Regions from separate parts of the Homo sapiens genome. Here region 2 is linked to region 1. Evidence: promoter capture Hi-C in 16 types of primary human blood cells and fetal thymus (Javierre and others, 2016). All regions are on one chromosome and are shown on one strand. The core of a region is centred on a gene start or on the middle of the fragment in contact, and the rest is flanking DNA. Distances in the headings are between cores, read along the strand shown.

Region 1 (3,893 bases), core at 294-2,793:
CCAGGTAGAGGGACAAGTATGGGCAGAGTCCTGGAGGTATCAGTAAAACCCGGGGTGTTCACAAACTAAAACAACAATGTTGCCAGAGCATAATCTGGGTGGGGGTGTTCATAAACTAAAACAACAATGTTGCCAGAGCATAATCTGGGTGGGGAGATGTGGCTGGAAGTACAGTGAGAGGAGCAATCAAGAGGACAAGTCACCTTGGGCCTGCAGGCCATGACAAGGAACTGGATTTTAAGAGCAATAGGAAGTCACTAAATTTTAGTGTCCAAAAGGTTTTAGGCAAGGGAACGAGATGATCTCCGTTTTAAGATCGATCTTGCTACAGTTTGTAAAACTGCCTAAGGATGGTAAAAGACTGAACCTGAGATTTCATTTAGAAGGAAACTAGCGTAGAGCAGGTGAGAGATGATGGTGGCATGGTCTAGATTAAGAAAGGCCCTTGGGAAAATTAACGGCCCTGCCCTAATATTTTTGCAGAAATGATCCTTTATGATTGTGCTGCACAAATCCCAAATGAGGTGAAGGATGTTGTCTTGTCCTATTATGAACTTTTCTGGGGAAAATGCTCTCTCCAAAATCAACATAAAATTAGATCTTTGTCAGTTCTAAGTATTAGAACATAAAATCTTAACCAAAGTTGTTAAACTCAAAATAGATTTTCAGCATGTAATTTTCATTTTCTGGAAGGTGATTAGGAATCTTTCCAAAGAGATGACACATGGCTTGAGAACTGGGGGCGGGAAGTCAAAGGAAGCAGCCATTAGGTCTCCACGCTGAAAGAATAGCTAAGTGCAGAGGCCTTGAGAAGGGAATGAAATGGCCACGTTCAAGGAACAGAGGCAGCCCACTGGCTGTAGCAGAGTAAATATCCATGGTATGTGGTCCACATTTACTGAATGTCCAAGACATGTCTTCTAATTCGTCTGTCACCAAAGTGGTCATAAGCAGTCGCCATCAATAAGAAACAAGCAGAGAAAGGGCCTACAGTTCAATTTATTTTTCAGTTGCCTCACAAAAGGCTAAGAAAAACTTAGTTTCTGGTGAACCCAGGTAGACATGCTCATTTTAAAGAGAATGAATATATCTAGGAAGAGCCTGGCAGTATATTCCCAAAGGCGTGACAATAAAGTTCCTTAACGTGTAGTCAGCACCCTCAAACGTCAACACGTCTGGAAAATTCGGAAGCGTTTCCTCCTGTCAGCGGCCCTTCAAGCTACCTCATACAGGGCAGCCTCTCCTACCCAGACCCGGAGCCTATCAATCGACGAGAAAACAGCTTCCCCTCACTGGGCGGTGCGAACCAACTCTGCACGATCAAGTCGGATAGAGGACTGGCAACCGCGGGCACTACAGGGCAGTCCTTAACGTCATATCCGGTTGTCAGCTCGGCCGCCTCCGCCTAACCAGAAGTCGCAGATGTGACGATGCAAAAACGCCCGTCGGGGGCGCGTCTCTTTCAGCAGCCAATGGGCTCTGCCCACCTTCGTCCTCGTCAGCATTTTGTCTAATCGCGGCCTGTGACGCTCGAAGGGCGGGGAGCAGAGGGAGATACAGAAACCGACAGGGGCCAGGCGCCCGGTGGCTCCGAAGCGGGGAAGTGGGACAAGATGGTTTACATCTCGAACGGTAAGTTGAGAGCGGGCTGTGGCTTCGACCGGTGACTTGTAAGATCGGACTCCAGGTTCCTTTCATCGTCGCTCGCTGAGTCTTGAGCCCGGTGCGGCTTCCCCGGGCTTAGCGCCCCGCGGCCGGGCGGAGCTGGACCGAAGTCGCCTCGGCTTGCGGCGCGTCAGCCGATGGTCTCTGAGCCGGCAGTCGGGGGCCGAGGTCCCGCCGGCCTCACGTTGAGTACTGGGAGCCCTGCAACCCCGCCTTCGTGCAGCAAGCGCTTGATTGTGGATTTGCGAGGGTGGTCTTTCCTCTCTCGGGTGTCGGTATCCTTAAAACTAGTAAGGACAATGATGCCGACGCTGTACACGTAGCGCTTGTGCCCTGGACAGTGTTTCAGTTATTTGCTTATCGTCACATTCAATCCTGTTTTACGGGTGGAAACTCTGAGGCTCAGATAGATTAAATAGCTTGCCTGGGCTATTTAAGTCACAGAGGTAACTTAATGGCTGAGTCGGGATTCGATCACAGGTAGGCTGACGTCAGCGTCCTTGTTATCTGTTATGCTGCCTCTGTCTACAACGTGTAAAAAGACCGAGCCGACCTAGGATGATAATTAGATGAAAGCTTTGCATAGGCTTTTTCCCCAGGAAAGGGTAGCTAGTCAAACATGGAATTTTTTGCTCGAATTTCAAGGGGCATGGGAAGAAGTACTATCTTCCCCTAGGAGCAAGTTAATTATTACCGGAATGGAGAATCCGAGAGACTTAATTCTGCGAACCCACAAAGAAGATGACCGGAAAGGAAGGACATGACTGTGTCAGATCAGTGCTAGAGCTGCCTGCCCACCTGTTTGACTCAGGTGAAATTCTTTGGTACAGTCTTAACAAGGAGTTGTGGATCATTGGAACTAGGTCTTGGTTCTATTTGAGTCATCTGTTTTTCTCCAGAGACGAGTAAGGTAGTCAGTGAGGAGCCTTCTGGCTGACTGCACTTTTGCATTTCTTGACTTTTAAAAATCTCCCCTTCTCATCTCCCACTTAAAAATCTTTGAAACAAGTAGATTGATGGACACTACAGAAAAGCATCAAAATTTCATCTTAGTTTTGGGCGCTTTCAGACTTTAGTCTGTTTTATAGCCTGTTTTATAGCCTTTGTGATATAAGCTTAAGGCTGGAAGCTTCTGTATGAATTATTGAATAATTCCTTGTATTTGTTGTGTCTTACTGTGTTCGCATTATTTCATTTGGTCCACATAAGTAGCCGATTAGGACTCTTTATCGTACTTTAAAAGTTGAGAAACACAACTGCATTCAAACACCTTACTTCTCTCTGGGGATATTGGTGGAAGGGACATTCTGCCTTAAGAAAGGGAAAGTGGAAAAGCAAGATAGAATCACAGAGGAAGAAATGACAGGTTCCAATTAGATCCACCTTCTTAGGACTGTATTATCAGCACTTGACAAAATCTTTCTCTTGCTGTCAGATGACTTTTTTTTTTCCAAAAATCTTATGTGATGGCTAGCCCTGGAATACTTTTTGTTGGAGAAAGAAAATGTCACATCAGCCAACGAAGCAGAGCTAGTAAGAGGCAGAGAACTAAGCCTGTCACCCACCCTCTAAACTTTTGTAGCCCCTTGCTCTCAGTAGCACAGTGAGAGCTTAGATCCAAGTGGGTATCTGAAATTAAGCTGGTCAAGAAAAGAGGAAAAGTAAACCCTCATGGAGTGGGTAGAGGTGAGTGGGGTTAACTCTTGGGATAATGGAAAGGAGAGGTAGTTGACAGTTACTCTTCCCCGAAAATATTCTGACATCTTGATTTGCAAGGCTGAAATATAGTGTACCAACTTATGTTGTAGCTTCTATTAAAGTGGTTTGAAAAATAGATCCAGTTTTGCTTAAGATAAAGCTAGAGTCTATTAGAATTAAGAGTATGCTGTTATAGAAAACAGTAGTTATTTTAATGAAGAACAAGCCAAATTCTCTTTAGTACTTAGAGCATACACACTCTTTATAAGAATTTTATAAAAATAACTGATTCCAAAGACTTGTAAGAGTATGAATACGCAATCTTTTTATACAGGCAAGAGACTTTGCAAATGAAAAGAAATACTCAGCATGTTTAGGAATATGGAAGTGGTGTGAGCATTCCTTTATATTCACCCGTCCCATTTGTTTCTTCAAAGTACTTGAATAAAGAGGTATTTTTACACCCATGTTGATAGCAGCATTATTCACAGTAGTCAGAAGGTGGAAGCAACTCAAGTGTCCATCAACAG
Region 2 (3,945 bases), core at 826-3,325, 530 kb after region 1:
ACAGATTGGAATCCAGATATGTTCCTAAGATATCCAGAATTAACTCCATTCCAGAGGAAGCATCTTGACTTGGTTGCACCCCATCTGCAGAGGAGGCAAAGCCAAAAACAGACCTTCCAAAGTCCAGTTCTGTGGGAGTGAATGCACTGAGTTACTCAGCACTGAGGAGGCAGGAGACAAGGAAACCTGTGGCTAGCTCCAAAGCAACGCCAGCTCCAGTCACAAAATTAAGAGTTAGGTCAATCACAAGGATCTTTCAAAAATAGTTCCCAGAGTTCTTATGCTATCTAATAAAATTTTATGGACACTAGAATTTTTATGGATTTCTCCTTTCTTGTTTCACAGCTCAGTTTTATTATTTTGCTAGCAAAAAACTATCTTTCATGCTTTGGTGAAACATCCACTATAAAAGCCAGTAGTAGGATAGATCAGGTAAAATACATAATACCTGGCAATGGCCCTCTAGACCACCATGAGTCCATTAGCATTTGTTTATGGGTTTTGCTAAGTGATTTCTTGGAAGCCAAAGGGTTAAGATCCCAGATGAGTCGTGAGGAAGAACAAGCTTGTGGGATGAATGCTGTGGTGGTAAATGCTGGGTCCACCTCTGCACACAGGCTCTGTCATTTCATATATCGAACTGCCCATTTTTCCCTAAATAAAACAAGGGTAATCATACTTGCCCTGTCCCGGATTGAGTTAAAGGAGATAATATATATGGACATTCTACATAATGGGTTAATATAGCAGGGAATATATTGAAGATCAAAGTACCAAAAGCATGGTGCTTTGTTCATTGTGGCAGAGCTCTGATATAGTTTATCAGTATTATTATCCTGGAACTGTAGGCCCAAGATTGTTTTGTCTATTCAAAATTGAACTACCTAATGTGTTCATCATGTAAACTTTGGCCTCTTTATACTTCTACACTTCCATACTTCCATACTTCTATAAATGCTTTTCCAAAGAATCACAATAATTTCTAATAAATCTACCATGGATGTGATCAAAAATTGAAATGCATAAATGTTTATTGGAAGAAACACTACTGAGTCCTCAAAAGCATATTGACTATGTTTTTGGTTTAAAGTTAAAAATATTGGCCAGGGATGGTGGCTCATACCTGTAATCCCAGCACTTTGGGAGGCCAAGGCAGATGGATCACCTAAGGTCGGGAGTTCGAGACCAGCCTGGCCAACATGGTGAAACCCCAACTCTACTAAAAATGTAAAAATTAGCTGGGCATGGTGGCGTGCTCCTGTAATCCCAGCCAAGGTGGGAGAATTGCTTGAACCAGGAAGGCAGAGGCTGCAGTGAGCTGAGATCGCGCCACTGTACTCCAGCCTGGGCAACAGAGCGAGACCTGGTCTCAAAAAAAAAAAAAAAAAGTATTTTAGCACACCATACAAATATCTGATGGTGATGGCTTTAAATAAAACTGATTCAGTCAGGGCAGTGGTGTCTCATGCCTGTAATCACTTTGGGAGGCCAAGGCGGGAGGATCACTTGAGGCCAGGAGTTTGAGACCAGCCCGGGCAACAGAGTGAGACCCCCGACTCTACAACAAAAGTTAAAAAATAAGCCAGGCATGGTGATGCATGCCTGTGGTCCCAGCTACTTGGGAGGCTGGGGTGAGAGGATCACTGGAGCCCAGGAGGTTGAGGCTGCAGTGAACCATGATCACACCACTGCACTCCAGCCTAAGTGACAGAGCGAGACCCTGTCTTTAAAAATAAATAAATAAATAAATAAATAAAACAAGATTTAAAAATTGAGTAGAAGTTGATAGGGAAGCCAAGTCTGTGTTTTCTCCCTTAGCTTTTAACATTTCATTTTCTCCTTATCTGCATCTTAGAGGACAGGTGACCGCAAAGCAGAAGTGATGAAGAGCCAGTCACCATGGCCACATCTTGAGGTCACACAGTCAGCAGTTCGCTTTGCTCACTCAGTCCTATAAAGTGAGTAAGTCTAATGGATGTGGGCCTGCTATGGCCTGCAGATTTGTGTCCCCACCAAATTCATATGTTGAAACTTAATCCCTAGTGCAGTGGTGTTGGGAGGGTGGACATCTGGGAGGTGATTAGGTCATGAGGGTTCCACCTTGATGAATGGGATTAATGCCCTTCTAAAAGATACTTGGGCCGGGCGCGGTGGCTCATGCCTGTAATCCCAACACTTCGGGAGGCCGAGGCTGGTGGATCACCTGAGGTCAGGAGTTTGAGACCAGCCTGGCCAACACAGTGAAACCCCATCTCTACTAAAAATACAAAAATTAGCTGGGTGTTGTGGTGGGTGCCTGTAATCCCATCTATTCAGGAGGCTGAGGCAGGAGAATTGCTTGAACCCGGGAGGTGGAGGTTGCAGTGAGCTGAGATAGTGCCATTGTATTCCAGCCTGAGCGACAAGAGAGAAATTCCATCTCAGAAAAAATAAATGAATAAGTAAAATAAAAGAGACTTGGGGGAGCCTGTTTGCCTTTCTGTTATGTGAGGATGCGGCAAGAAGGTGCTATCTGTAAAGCAGAGAGCCCTCACCAGACACTGACTCTACTGTCACCATGATCCTGGTGCCAGCCTTCAGAACTGTGAACTATTCATTTATGTTCTTTATAATAGTCTAAGGTATTTTGTTACAGCAACTCAGATGGACTAAGACAGGGCCTAACTCATATTTTTAGAAAAGGTCAGTCCTCTTTTGTTTCACAATGTTAACATGTTGACCCTCCACCAGACTTAAGAATAATGTAAACTCATTGGTTTTGCCTCTGAAACCTATTTTGCATGACCAGTCTCTGGTCTGAAAGGACAAAATCCAAAGACTGCTCTTTTTTTATGGTCAGTGATACCCTTTATGGATACCTTTTAAAAAGATCATTTGACCCACATCAGAAAAGATCTATACTATTGTAACTTTCAAAATCAGTTGCTTACCTGGAAGAGGATTACATAAAAATAAATTAATTAATGAATTAATTAAAAATCAGTTGATTTCTTTTAGGGGAAGAAAAGACTCCTTGCTCATTCTGAGAAGGCACAGCAAAATATGACATTAAGATTACCCGTCAGTTTGGCCAGGTACAGTGGCTCACCCCTGTAATCCCAGCACTTTGGGAGGCCGAGGAGGGTGGATCACAAGGTCAAGAGATCAAGAACATCCTGGCCAACATGGTAAAACCCCGTCTCTACTAAAAATACAAAAATTAGCTGGGCGTGGTAGTGCACACCTGCAGTCCCAGCTACTCTGGAGGCTAAGGCAAGAGAATCGCTTGAACCCGGGAGGTGGAGGTTTCAGTAAGCTGAGATCGTACCACTGCACTCCAGCCTGGGAGACAGAGCAAGACTTCGTCTCAAAAAAAAAAAAAAAAATTAAGATTACCTGTCAGTTTGATGCAGCTGACGTATTTCTAACAATTACAAGCTACAAGGCACTGTTTCCTTCGTGTGCCTTTCAACAGATCTGTTGGCTGCTTTCTATAGATGATGTATGTCAATACTCAGGGATTCACTGACTAAAAAGTTAGAAATCCTATTCACATATATTCTATTAGTATAAACTGTGGTTGGGCATTTTTTCCTCCCAAGCTTAGTTTTCAGTAAATTACTTTAAATGCAGGAATTTGTAGCAAGCAGAAAATGCCGATATGGTAATGTTTCACCTGAGCAATCGTACTTGCATTACCTTTGCTAAACTAGACATCAATCTAGCTCAAAAACAGATAAATGGAAAGTTTGAAATTGTGTACGTTCTCCTGTGTTTCATTATTGAAGAATGAGAGGCCATCCGTGGAAAACAATAATAGGAAAGGGGTCACTAGATAAGAAAACAAAAACCTTTCTATAGGAAAACATCCATTTAAGTCACCAATACTTAAGAAACACACAATTTGTAGGTATTTACAATTTAAAAGCCCCAATTTCCTCCCAACATCCCTTAAAACTAAGTTAC

Evidence for each region. Contacts are between HindIII fragments. The CHiCAGO score rates a contact against its expected background, and 5 or more counts as called.
Region 2: a fragment that was not itself captured here is called in contact with the fragment with the promoter of SELENOK in region 1 in 5 of 17 cell types (M1 macrophages, erythroblasts, M0 macrophages and 2 more); the score reaches 8.8 in M1 macrophages.

Annotation. Positions count from the first base shown.
Region 1 is chr3:53,889,509-53,893,401 of GRCh38, reverse strand. It overlaps SELENOK (selenoprotein K), which reads left to right and starts at 1,543. Exons shown (of 5, transcript NM_021237.5): 1 at 1,543-1,632. The coding sequence starts at 1,614. RefSeq lists enhancers at 1,265-1,564, 1,455-2,355. The HindIII fragment of the contact is 7,183 bases long and covers 1-2,243 here.
Region 2 is chr3:53,360,018-53,363,962 of GRCh38, reverse strand. LOC105377094 (a long non-coding RNA gene) reads left to right here. Exons shown (of 3, transcript XR_940847.3): 2 at 1,856-1,958. Among named protein-coding and RNA genes, the nearest start is that of DCP1A, 14 kb to the right of the region's middle. The HindIII fragment of the contact is 3,016 bases long and covers 568-3,583 here.